Linked DNA regions of Homo sapiens: all the other regions are linked to region 3. The links are contacts of gene promoters, found by promoter capture Hi-C in blood cells and fetal thymus (Javierre and others, 2016). All regions are on one chromosome and are shown on one strand. Each heading gives the region's core, a stretch centred on a gene start or on the middle of the fragment in contact. The rest is flanking DNA. Distances are from core to core; before and after follow the strand shown.

Region 1 (2,915 bases), core at 370-2,869, 210 kb before region 3:
TAATTTTTTGAGAAAACCTCCATACTGTTTTCCCTAATGTCTGGTACTAATTTACATTCCCACCAACAGTGTATTAAAGTTCCCCTTTTTCCACATCCTCATCAGCATCAGCATTTGTTATTTTTTTATCTCTTTGATGAAAGCCATTTTAACTGAGATGAGGTAATATATCTCATTGTGGTTTTGATTTGCATTTCCCTGATTAGTGATGCTGAGCATTTTCCATATCCCTTTGGTCATCTGTATGTCTTCTTTGGAGAAATGTCTACTCAGGCTTCTTGCCCATTTTTAAGTTGGGTTTTGGATTTTTTGGGTTGCTGTAGGGCTGTTTGAGTTCTTTGTATAATCCAGATATTAACCCCTTGTCAGATGCATAGTTTGCAGGTATTTTCTCCCACTCTATAGGCTTTCTCTTTGGTCTATTTCCTTTGCTGTGCAGAAGCTTTTTAGTTTGATGTAATTGCATTCACCTATTTTTGCTTTTGTTGCCTGTGTTTTTGAGGTCTTATCAAAAAAATTCTTGCTCCAGACAAATGCCATGAACCATTTCCCAGAGATAGATAGATAGATAGATAGATAGATAGATAGATAGACAGACAGACAGACAGATAGATAGATAGATGTTTTGAGACAGAGTCTGCCATGCTGGAGTGCAGTGACATGATCTTGGCTCACTGCAACCTCCGCCTCCTGGGTTCAAGTGATTCTCATGCCTCAGCCTCCCAAGTAGCTGGGATTACAAGCACATACCATCACACCTGACTAATGTTTGTATTTTTAGTAGAGGTGGGGTTTCACCATGTTGGCCAGGCTGGTCTCAAACTCCTGACCTCAAGTGATCCACCCACCTTGACCTCCCAGAGTGCTGGGATTACAGGCATGAGTCACTGCACCCAGCCCATTTACCCTATATTTTATTCTTGTAGTTTTGGATCTTTTGTTTAAGTCTTTTTTTTTTAAGAGATAGGAACTCACTATGTCCACTGTGTTGCCCAGGCTGGCCTTGAACTCTTGGGCTCAAGTGATCCTCCTGCCTCAGCCTCCTGAGTAACTGGGTCTATGGATGTGCACCACCACCTGGCTACGTTTAAGTCTTTAATCTATTTTGAGCTGATTTTGCAGTTGGTGAGATAAGGATCTAGTTTCATTCTTCTGCATATATATCCAGTTTTTCAAGCACCATTTATTAGACTGTCCTTTTCCCATTGTGTGTTCTTGGCACTTTTATTGAAAATTAGTTGGCTGTAAATATGTGCATTTATTTCTATGTTCTCTATTCTATTCCACTGGTCATTGTGATTCTTTTTTTTTATTCCAGTGCCATGCTGTTTTGGTTACAATAGTTTTGCAGTATATTTTGAAGTCAGCTACTGTGATGCCTCCAGCTTTCTTTTTCTTTGCTCAAGATTGCTTTGGCTATTCAGGGTCTTTTGTGGTTCCATGCAATTTTTTTTCTTACACTGCTATTTTGAATTCCTTGTCTAATAGGTCACACATCTTCTCTTTGGGATTTGTCACTAGCCCCTTATTTTGCCTGTTTAGTGAGGTCATAATTCCGATTGTACTTGGTGATTGTGGCTGCACTTCGATGTCTGCACATCGAAAAATTAGGTATTTATTTTAATCTTCACAGTCTGGCTTTAAATGTTCCCATGCTTCTTCAGTGGGCCTGTTCAGTTATCCAAGCCGACTGTTATGAAAGACTCTGACCAGTGCAGCTGTTCCGACACTAGAGGGTGCCCTAAGCCCATATTTGTTGTCAGTTTCACAAAAGTTCCATAGTTGGCATGCACTCTGGCAGAGATGGACCTGGTGAAGATCCAAGGCATGTACCCAAGTTGAGTGAGAATATTGGCCAGGGACCCAAGTCTGGAAGCCTGTCCCATAGGCCCAGACAGGCGAGGCTTCCAGGCCAGTTCCCCAACTGCAGCAGGAGAAGATGGAGCTGAGCCTGGGCCGCCTCTGTACCTGCTGTGGGATGGGGGCTGGTGGCCCAGATATGCAAGCCTCCCAGCAGTTCTCAGGAGATGCTGAAGTTGAGACTAGTTCCCCTCAGAATTCACTGTGAGATCAAGGCCAGTGAGTTCACCCCAGTAGGTCAGGTGGGTGCACATCCCACAGTCATTTCCTGCACAAATGGGACAGTTCCCAGACTGAGGAGCTGGAGTTGATTGGGCCCCCTCAGGATCTGCTTTGGGATGGAGGCTGATGTGCCCATCATGTAGGCTTACATGACTGACATGTGTAATCCCTAGACTGTGAGATATTGGTGAGTCTTTCTCTTGAGTTCTTGCACAAACAGTAATAAGCTGGGATCCCAGATGAGGAGGACTGGAGCCCAGTTACAAGGTAACTTTCAAATTCACTTCCAAGACCGTTGTCAGTGGGCAGACGAGCCTTTCTGCCAAGGTACTAATGTGCATGATTCCTCCTGGACCCCTTGGCAAATTGTTTTGGTTCAAGGATAAACAGGACTGTACCTAAGCCTTTTGGGAAACAAGGCTGTTTCTAGATTTAAATCCCAGGGGCATGATCAGCAGGTCTGCCACCTGGCTGTTGGTCTGCACTCTCAAAACAGTCTTTCTGGCTCTTGGGCTCCACCAGGGATTCATAGCTTCCTACCTTCCTACCTTCCTACCTTCCTACCTTCCTACCACAGAGACTTGTCTGTGGATGAATGCAGACAAATTTTGAGAGGATATGAGTGGGTGACTTCCTATTACACCATTTTGCTGATTTGTTTCTGTTACGTGTGTCCATGTGAAGAGACCACCAAACAGGCTTTGTGTGAGCAATAAAGCTTTTTAATCTCCTGGGTGCAGGTGGACTGAGTGAAAAAGGAGTCAGCAAAGGGAGGTAGGGGTGGGGCAGTTTTATAGGATTTGGGTAGGTAGTGGAAAATTACAGTTAATGGG
Region 2 (2,938 bases), core at 173-2,672, 190 kb before region 3:
GGAGAGTTTCATGACTGTTCCCATACATCTTCCTGCAGCTGCAGGCATACCCCCCAAGTCTGCTTTTAGCTTGCCTCTTAGTGCACCTGAAGGGAAAGGAATGAGCTTTTTAAGGCCCACTGTTTTACCGGGGCCCATTGTATGAGGGTGAAGTTTGGCAGAGACTTTCCCCCCACTTCCTCCTGTGCCGGAGCTGTCTTATCTTTGTTTTACTGTCTGCTCTTTCTGGCTGCTCCTTATTAGAAGGGAAGTGATTTCCTTGAAATGCATGAGGCTAGAAAGGGAGCTGGAACTTAAAATGGCAGTGGTTGTCTGAGATGACGGTTCTCCTGTTGTGTCACTCACCCTATTGTTGAAAATGGTACAAACATCCTCCTTATCCTGCCTATTATTTAATGCATCTCTCTCTTCTGCTTTTTGATATATCCCATCAATATTTTTCTCCATATGCCATCTTAGTTCAGATCTTTATCATTTCACATGGTTTCCAACATCAGCCTTTTATCTGGTTTGCTGAAGTTTCCTAACCTCAGTTTGTTTTGTACACAGCTATCTGTATCATGTTTCACAAACGTAATTAGATTCAGTAACAAAAACAAAATGTATTGTTTACAATAGAGCCATTAATATGCTGACTTCTGGTTATCAAAATGTCATTGCTTAAAGAAATAGATTGTGGAAGAAATATCTGTGGGTGAGGATCTTAGAAAATGTGAATTAAAGTCCCTGCTATATACCATATAATAAGTTTTATTTTCCTCATTTAGGCTTTAGTTTTCTCATTTGTAAAACAAAGTAGTTTAAATAGATGATCTCTGAAGCTTCTAAATCCTGATACTGAATATAGCTTGACTGGCCCATGGACATTCAGGTCTTTGCATTGAGTTTCCCATTAAATTTTCTGAGGCATTTTTTTTTCATTCAATAAAGTTTAAGGAACATGAGTCAGTAGCGGGCCCCATGTTGGACCCTGGGTGTAGAAAAATTCCCCACCCAGAGAAACAGAAGACAGCCATCCATCCACATATTTGTACTACATCAATATGTACTCAAGGCAGCAAGAGCAGCATTGTACACAGTGCAATGGAAGGGCAATGATAAAAAATAGCTTTGCCTGAGGATGCTAAATGAAGATAATAGGCAAGCCTACATGGTAGATACAAGAATAGAAAAAAAAAAAACCTGAAAAGCAAGGAGGCAGAAAAGATTCAATAAAATGTTAGGTAGACATCTGATTAAAGTGGATTATTAAATACAAACTCCTAGTTAAGTGCAGTGGATTAAATGTATATGCTTATCTTTGCTTCTCCTTATTTCTCTAAAATGATAATGCATAGATTAAAAAAATACAAACTGTAAAAGAAAAAAAAGAGAAGATAACAGCTGACCAGAGATGGCAAGAAAATTGGGAAAAATTAGAGAGAATATGGACATGAGAAAATTCACTTAGAAGACTGAATAAAGATGAAAACTATGTACTCTACAAGTTCAGGGGAGAGCCAAAAAAAGCAACTTCCACTTGCATTGAGGAACTCCAAAAGTGTCAGAAATTAAAAATGCAAGATGCCTCTGAAGGTAGTTGTGCAGATAGGGCTGAAAACAGAAGGTCTGGTTTAAAGTTGGTTTGAGAATCAGTTAGAGCCTGTGCGGCCCACCCTTACCTCAACAGAGATGGGAGGTTTATTCTCTGGAGACACTGAATCAGAGGATTCAATGTGAAGGATAGACATCTGCTATCCTTCACACTCAGGACAGCAGAAAGGTGAGGAGGCTGAACTGAAAGGGGTAGGGACTAGAAACCTACACACTGAAAAATGAGACCCCAAGCTCCAGTCCACAACTTTGGGTTTGTTTACATGTAGACTTATTATTGTACAGGCAGAGGATTCTCATGGAAAACTGACATAGCAAAAAAAAAAAAAAAAAAACCTAAGGATACTGGCAGCTAATGATTCACTTAAAAATAAGTCCCTACCTGTTACCCTACAGAGAAAGTCATTGGTCAACAGGTAGAACTTAAGTACAAAGCTTGCAATCAGCTTTCCAGTGCCGCACTATTAAATATGAATGGGAAGCTTAAATATTATCTGGCATTAGAGGGAAGCCTCCATTATAAAATACACAGAAAAAAACTATATATAAAATATACAGAAAATATACAGAAAAAGTACTCCAAAAAATTAAAAGTGTAAGAAGAATAATGAAGTATCGGGGAACCTGCCCCCTGTAGTCACGTAGGTTCTTTTCTGTTTTCCCCAAGCGTCAGCCAGGTTGAGAAATAAAGGGACAGAGTACAAAAGAGAGAAATTTTAAAGCTGGGTGTCTGGGGGAGACATCACATATCGGTAGGTTCCGTGATGCCCCCCGAGCCATGAAACCAGCAAGTTTTTATTAGTGATTTTCAAAAGGGGAGGGAGTGTACGAATAGGGTGTGGGTCACAGAGATCATGTGCTTCACAAGGTAATAGAATCTCACAAGGCAAATGGAGGCAGGGCGAGATCACAGGACCACAGGACTGGGGCGAAATTAAAATTGCTAATGAAGTTTCGGGTACCATTGTCATTGATATCATCTTATCAGGAGATAGGGTTTGAGAGCAACCAGTCTGACCAAAATTTATTAGGTGGGAATTTCCTCATCCTAATAAGCCTGGGAGCGCTATGGGAGACTGGGGCTTATTTCATCCCTACAGTTTTGACCATAGAAGACGGCCACACCCAAGGGGGCCATTTTAGAGGCCGACCCTCAGGGGTGCATTCTCTTTCTCAGGGATGTTCCTTGCTGAGAAAAAGAATTCAGCGATGATATTTCTCCCATTTGCTTTTGAAAGAAGAGAAATATGGCTGTGTTCCTCCCGGCTCACCAGTAGTCAGAGTTTAAGGTTATCTCTCTTGTTCCCTGAACATTGCTGTTATCCTGTTCTTTTTTCAAGGTGCC
Region 3 (3,002 bases), core at 465-2,964:
ACTGTGATTCAATTAAAACTCTTTCCTTTATAAATTATCCAGTTTTGGGTATGTCTTTATTGGCAGCATGAGAAGAAACTAACATACCCGTCTTGCATCTGGGGTCAAGCAGAGGGAGCTGGTATCTACTCTTCTAGAGGCCATGAACAATAATTAATTGAGGCCTCCTCTCTTATTCTGCTCCTTCAGATGGAATTGCTGGAGGATAAAATGATGGCATCTGGCGGCTGTTTAAGTTATTGCACACTCCTCCAATTCCATGCTCTTGCCCCTTCCCCATCTTTCTGACGGTGTTTTTGTCTACAGCTCAGATTTCTCATTCCTGAAAAATGTTGTCCCTGTCTTTCTCCCTGACTTGCATCTCATTGCAGTGATTTCCAACTGTGTACGCAGAACTGACAGGGTAATCAGGAGTTGTAACTGAGAAATGGAAACAGACAAGAAGGTCTGCTATGAGAGAGTAGGGGCTTGATCAGCTGTGAGGATTTCCAGATGCTACCACCAGAGAAAGATGAAAATGCTGGAATGAGGCAGTCTCATTTATGGCTGCCTTTCTTAGTCAAGAAGCTAATCTGGAAGATGGAGGTTAACACCTTGAATATACAAAATGCCATCATTTTCCAACATTTCAGACAAGGCAAAGAGAAAGAAGGAGAGTCTACCATATTTGGGGGAAAGGCTTTAAAAGGCTGTGCACTGACTAATGTCCAGGATGTTTGGCATCCTGTAAACAGTGTTGCTGGATGATATAAATTGGGTTCACTCTGGCCCCTGCCTATTCATAGGGTGCTATGAGAGTATAGACCAAATGTGTTTAGGACAATGGTGGGGTTCCATGAAGGCATTCTTTCTGCAGATACTGACTTGAGCTTCAAAGCATCCATAGATGAGGAGATGCAGCCCACAGGCTCAGAACTCTTGAAGTAAGTATGAGAAAGATATAATTTAGAGACTGGGAATGTCTTGAAAATAAGAGGTCCCAATGGACAAGATGAAATCAAACTGGGTGGCTGTCTCCCTTTACCCCCACTTCTAATGCAGTGCCATCTGCCAGCAGCAGGTGGCTGCTGTGGTTCCCTTAAGGTAGAACATTTCTGGCTCTTGGGGGAATTGCAAGTAGGGAACTAACCTGGAAGAAGCCTATGACAGCCACCTCAGTGGCAGCAATGAATTCCATGGCAGCTGGGACATCTGTGAGCCACGTGGGTTCCTGGGCAGCACCAGGACCATCTAGAGAGAGAAGCAGAAGATGTCAGGGTACTGAGGCAAGAAGAAGCAGCTCTAAATAATGAGGGCATCTATACCTTTTATCTCTATACTAAGGGCAAGAAGAGCACAATTTATAGGAGTACTGTTGGCATTCCAAGGCATAATATTTTTACTAACATATGGAAGGTGACCCTACTGATGGTCTGTCTCTGAAGGATACTGCCAGACTTCCCTACTCTCTACCAGGCAAAATGCACTTATCCAGGATTTCCTGGAAAGCTTTCTAGGTGTGGAGGAAAAGTACCCAGAGAACCACCATGCTCCCTTTCCTTCTCCTAATAACACTTTCACACTATAGCCACCCAACTACATTTTTCTTTTACCTGAGGATTTCTCAACTTCTGCAGCAACTTCTGCAGCCAGCTCACACGTGAGGAGAAATAAGAGGAACATGAACCTGGACGGGGCAGCTTCCATTGTCCCTCTCCTGCTCCTGCTCCAACCCTGGACTTTGTGTTGGGGAGGCCGACTCAGGGCAGCCTACTCTGTAGCTGATTGGCTGTGGGGTTGTTAGGGCTTTGGGAACTTTGCAGCTGGCTCCAGGGGAGCCTTCAACTTCTGAGATAAAAGACCAAGGTTAGTAATAGGGACTCAGAACATATCCAACCAGAAGAAAGTCAGGTCAGTTTATTTAAATAAAAAATGTAAATATGCTATGCCAGGCATTGATCCTAGCGCTAAGAATAGAAAGATAATTATGATCTGATCCAGCCTCTGCCAGCTTAGATTATCAGTGGGAGAGATGGGCAAGTAAAAAGATTATTTAAATATAAGATGGAAAGTGATATAGAAAAATTCATAGGGTGCTATGACAATACATATTAAGGGTATTAGGGACAATGCTAGGGTTCAATGAAAGTGTTCTTCCTGCGGAGGATGCCGGAGCAGAGTTCTGGGTAAGTAAGATTTTGCCAGGCAACACAAGGTAGAAAGGGAGTTTCATGTAAAGAACTAAAGCACAGGCCGGGCGTGGTGGCTCATACCTGTAATCCCAGAACTTTGGGAGGCTGAGGCAGGTGGATCACGAGGTCAGGAGATTGAGACCATCCTGGCTAACATGGTGAAACCCCATCTCTACTAAAAATACAAAAAATTAGCCAGGTGTGGTGGCGGGCGCCTGTAGTCCCAGCTACTCGGGAGGCTGAGGCAGGAGGATGGCCTGAACCCGGGAGGCAGAGCTTGCAGTGAGCCGAAATAGCACCACTGCACTCCAGCCTGGGCGACAGAGCGAGACTCCGTCTCAAAAAAAAAAAAAAAAAAAAAAAAGAACCAAAGCACAGATATGCAAATATAATGTGTGACAGAATTACTAGTAATTGAGAATGATGAAAAGGAAGGAAGTGATACATGTGGACAGAAAGGCATGTTGGGACCAGCTCACAGCAGGCTTTATATGATACACTAAGCGCGGGAGCATCAATTTTATTCTGTAGGTGATGGGAACCACTGAAAAGTCTTAAGCAGAAGAATGAGATGAAGTTTGATTTTGCTCACAAGTGTCTGAGGAAGTCCAAGATGAGATTTCCACAGGCATTGGGATATGTAGTTTTAAGCTTAGGAGAATTTTCATGTGAAAATATTACAAAAGAAATTAGGAAGCCCTAGCCAGGGCAATTAGGCAAGAGGAAGACATAAAAGGCATCTAAACAGGAAAAGAAAAAGTCAAACTATTTCTCCTTGTTGACAATATGATTGTATGCCTAGAAAGCTCTGAAGACTCTGCCAAAAGGCTA
Region 4 (2,943 bases), core at 139-2,638, 160 kb before region 3:
ACTAGGAGAAATGCAGTGGTATGTAAAGATGTGTAACCTCTAACCCCCAGAGTTTGGCCATGGGCCAGCTATTAGTCTAGGCAGACAAAACAAAATAGTCCAGTTCTCAGGCGCACATAGACAAGACTGAGGAAGACATCTTAATCAGGTTTGGAAATGGTAACCCCAGGCAAAATTTATCCTAAGATGTCTGGTCTGGAGACCTTCTGAACTCATTAGCACTTGGAGGTCACTTGCAAACAGATTTATCAGAACTATGTTTATAACTTTCCCTGTGGACAACACTAAATATTAAGCAAGCAGTAGAAGCAAGGAATAGAAGACTAAAAATGGTTTGATGAAAGAATATAAATCTGATTAGATAATTTAAAAAATTCCAAGAGACCGTCTTCCTAGGGAAACACATAAAGTCAACACTGAAGTGCTTCAACAGAATATAGGAACTCAGTTCAATGTGAACTTACTTCCCAGCCATGAGCAAGTGGCACCTCATAAACATTAAGTCACAAGAGGTCTCAGATGTGTGCACTGCGTTGAGAGTCCTGGTGCAAGCAATGAGAGCTTTGGCCAAACCTGTATTTTTGTCTGTGTCCTCCAGCCCAAGACCATCAGGAACATACTCGTAGTTGAACAAGTTGGATTTATTTCTCTTTGCAGCAAGGGGGAACACATTCCATGGGGAAATGTGGGGTGTCTCAGTAAGAGGCTGTTAGGGTGTATTACAGGATTTGGGTTTGTGTTAGTTGATTTGGGGGCTTTGCTCAGAATTGCATCCTGTCAGGAAGTAGGGTGCAAGGAATGCTGTAATGTGCAGAATGAAGTGAAACTAAAGCTGTCATTGGTAAATATGCTAATGCATATTAGTCAGGATAGTGGGTTTTTGTTCATTTTTGTTGTTTGGACAATGTTCATGTTTTTGTTTCTGTTCAGACATGATTACAGAATGGTCTTTTTTTAATTTGATTTTTCACAGCCTTGTCTTGTGTTAGTGTTCTGTGAATTGTTTATGTTCAACAGATCACCACAGTGTAGCTGTGTCAGGCCAACTCCTAGCAACAGCACAGTCTAGCTGATAGTCCAGGTCATGGGCTGCTTTTCCCTTGCTCATTAGCTTAAAAAATAATGTGACACCCAGAAGAGTGGTTGCTCAGCGGTGGAAGTAGACAAATACATCTCAAGGCAAATGTTGGCAGTGTCCAAGCATCATGCAAAAGAGGGAGCTACTGTCTTCGAGTAGTTTAGTTACACATTTACATATTTTAAGCATCCATATCCGCTAACAAAATCCTCATTTTCATGTTTATCAAGTAACTTTCTATCTTGAATGTATCTTTTTGTCCATGTCTTCACATAGGGTAAGAATGTCCTTGTTTCTTGAACATGGTATTCCAGGTGTTCCTCATAATAAATCATGCTTTAAATTTTTTATATCTGTATATGCATATTACTTATATTTATTTAAACGTATATATTAGGTAAATACCATGACCTCACTTTCCTCCCTTCTTCCAATATCCTGTTTCCCATTGCCCAGCCCAAATGGAAGACAAAAGAAAGCCCATTGATGCCCTATCTACAGTTTAGCCTTCTGGAGGCATACAGCAGGGTAGAAAAGTATAAAGAGGGCGTTAGGAGGGCAGACCTCTTAGTTGTCCAAATATAATATGAGCATGCATCCATTGCTGGGGAAAGAGTGTCACTGGACGTTTTACAACATGATTAAGGTTATCTCCTCACAAAACCCTTGATATACAGAGTGTTCTAGCAAGAGCAAACAGTCCAGATGAAACCTCTGTGTTGCAAAACTGTCATAAGAGTAGTCCTTAAATGAAGTCTATAAAATTTATAGCTTTACAGATTCCAGCCTGTTCTTCTGCCATTCTTTATACCACTCACCAGCCATACAAAACTCTCTCTTGTCTCTTCCAGCAGGGTACAAGGGCCCAGAGAACTCACAACCTCTTTTTTGCTTCAGCCCATCCACTAGAACTAGCTCAGGCTTAATCTAACTGCAAAGAAGCCCAGGAAATATAGAAGAGAAGATGAAATATTTTGGTGAGTACCATTGTCTCTGCCAGTTTCTTGGAGCATTTTTGCTTACTTCCTAGTTCTTAGCTTTGTTCTATTTAACATACTTCTGTTGTGGAGCTTGCCAGTTAATTAAAGTTCCTTTGAGATTTTTCAAGAAAAGTGACACACACAGTTATATTAGCTAGCACACATAAGCTAACAGTACTAGCTAGTAGCCCCTGCCAAAAGGTGCTTGAGAAATATTCCATTTGTTTTTGCCAAAGGAACCTATGCTAAGAATTGTTTTAAAACGTTGTGATAGTAGAAGTAAAGACCACTGAGTTTTCTTTGGATTCATGTGTGCCAGTTATGAATTTATTGGTTCTGAGCTCCAAATTAAAACTTCAAATTCGGCTCTGAGAAGTTTTCTCAGTAGAGGGCCCTGTAGAGAAACCTTGCAGGAAGAAAGGGCGTTATTTCCATTTGGACACCAAGTAAGGTAGGCTACCTGCCTTCAGTACAGGTTTCATGTTAGGAAACCAGAGTAGTGACAGAAACTGTATAGCTCACAAAGCCCAAAATACTCACCATCTGGCCCTTTAGAGAAAGTTTGCTGATCCCTGTTCCAGTCTATGTGTGGAAACAAAAATGAAGAATACAAGGCTCCCCAAACCACAAAGCATCTATTGAAATAACTGATGTTGTTCTGCTAGTTTTTTTCCCATAAAAAAACTAGCAGAACAACATCAGTTATTTCAAACAGATACTTTTTAAGGTTAACCCTTCAGTTTTAAAACAATCTGTCTTAAAATTATTTCTTCAAATACAAGTTTTTTTTTTTTTCCCCATGAACATGTATTTTGTAAATGAACTTTGAGGGTACAAGTGTAAATTTAAAAATACCTCCTCCTTTGGTCTGGGTTATTATGCAGT

The links. The method cuts DNA at HindIII sites, captures the fragments that hold promoters and counts their contacts. A CHiCAGO score of 5 or more calls a contact.
Region 1: a fragment that was not itself captured here is called in contact with the fragment with the promoter of ERP27 in region 3 in 6 of 17 cell types (total CD8 T cells, naive CD8 T cells, naive CD4 T cells and 3 more); the score reaches 9.7 in total CD8 T cells.
Region 2: a fragment that was not itself captured here is called in contact with the fragment with the promoter of ERP27 in region 3 in 2 of 17 cell types (naive CD8 T cells and total CD8 T cells); the score reaches 6.3 in naive CD8 T cells.
Region 4: a contact is called between a fragment that was not itself captured here and the fragment with the promoter of ERP27 in region 3, in 6 of 17 cell types (total CD8 T cells, naive CD8 T cells, naive CD4 T cells and 3 more). The highest score is 8.8, in total CD8 T cells.

What each region holds. Positions count from the first base shown.
Region 1 is chr12:14,722,147-14,725,061 of GRCh38, forward strand. All of the region lies in intron 5 of GUCY2C-AS1 (GUCY2C antisense RNA 1), which reads left to right. Among named protein-coding and RNA genes, the nearest start is that of GUCY2C, 27 kb to the left of the region's middle. RefSeq lists an enhancer at 1,815-2,004. The HindIII fragment of the contact is 2,358 bases long and covers 441-2,798 here.
Region 2 is chr12:14,743,437-14,746,374 of GRCh38, forward strand. All of the region lies in intron 2 of LOC105369669, which reads right to left. Among named protein-coding and RNA genes, the nearest start is that of H4C16, 26 kb to the right of the region's middle. The HindIII fragment of the contact is 1,207 bases long and covers 820-2,026 here.
Region 3 is chr12:14,936,823-14,939,824 of GRCh38, forward strand. It overlaps ERP27 (endoplasmic reticulum protein 27), which reads right to left and starts at 1,715. Exons shown (of 7, transcript NM_152321.4): 1 at 1,593-1,715; 2 at 1,130-1,230. The coding sequence starts at 1,686. RefSeq lists an enhancer at 1,171-1,230. The HindIII fragment of the contact is 1,334 bases long and covers 1,487-2,820 here.
Region 4 is chr12:14,779,982-14,782,924 of GRCh38, forward strand. No RefSeq gene overlaps it. Among named protein-coding and RNA genes, the nearest start is that of H2AJ, 7.0 kb to the left of the region's middle. The HindIII fragment of the contact is 4,266 bases long and covers 1-2,943 here.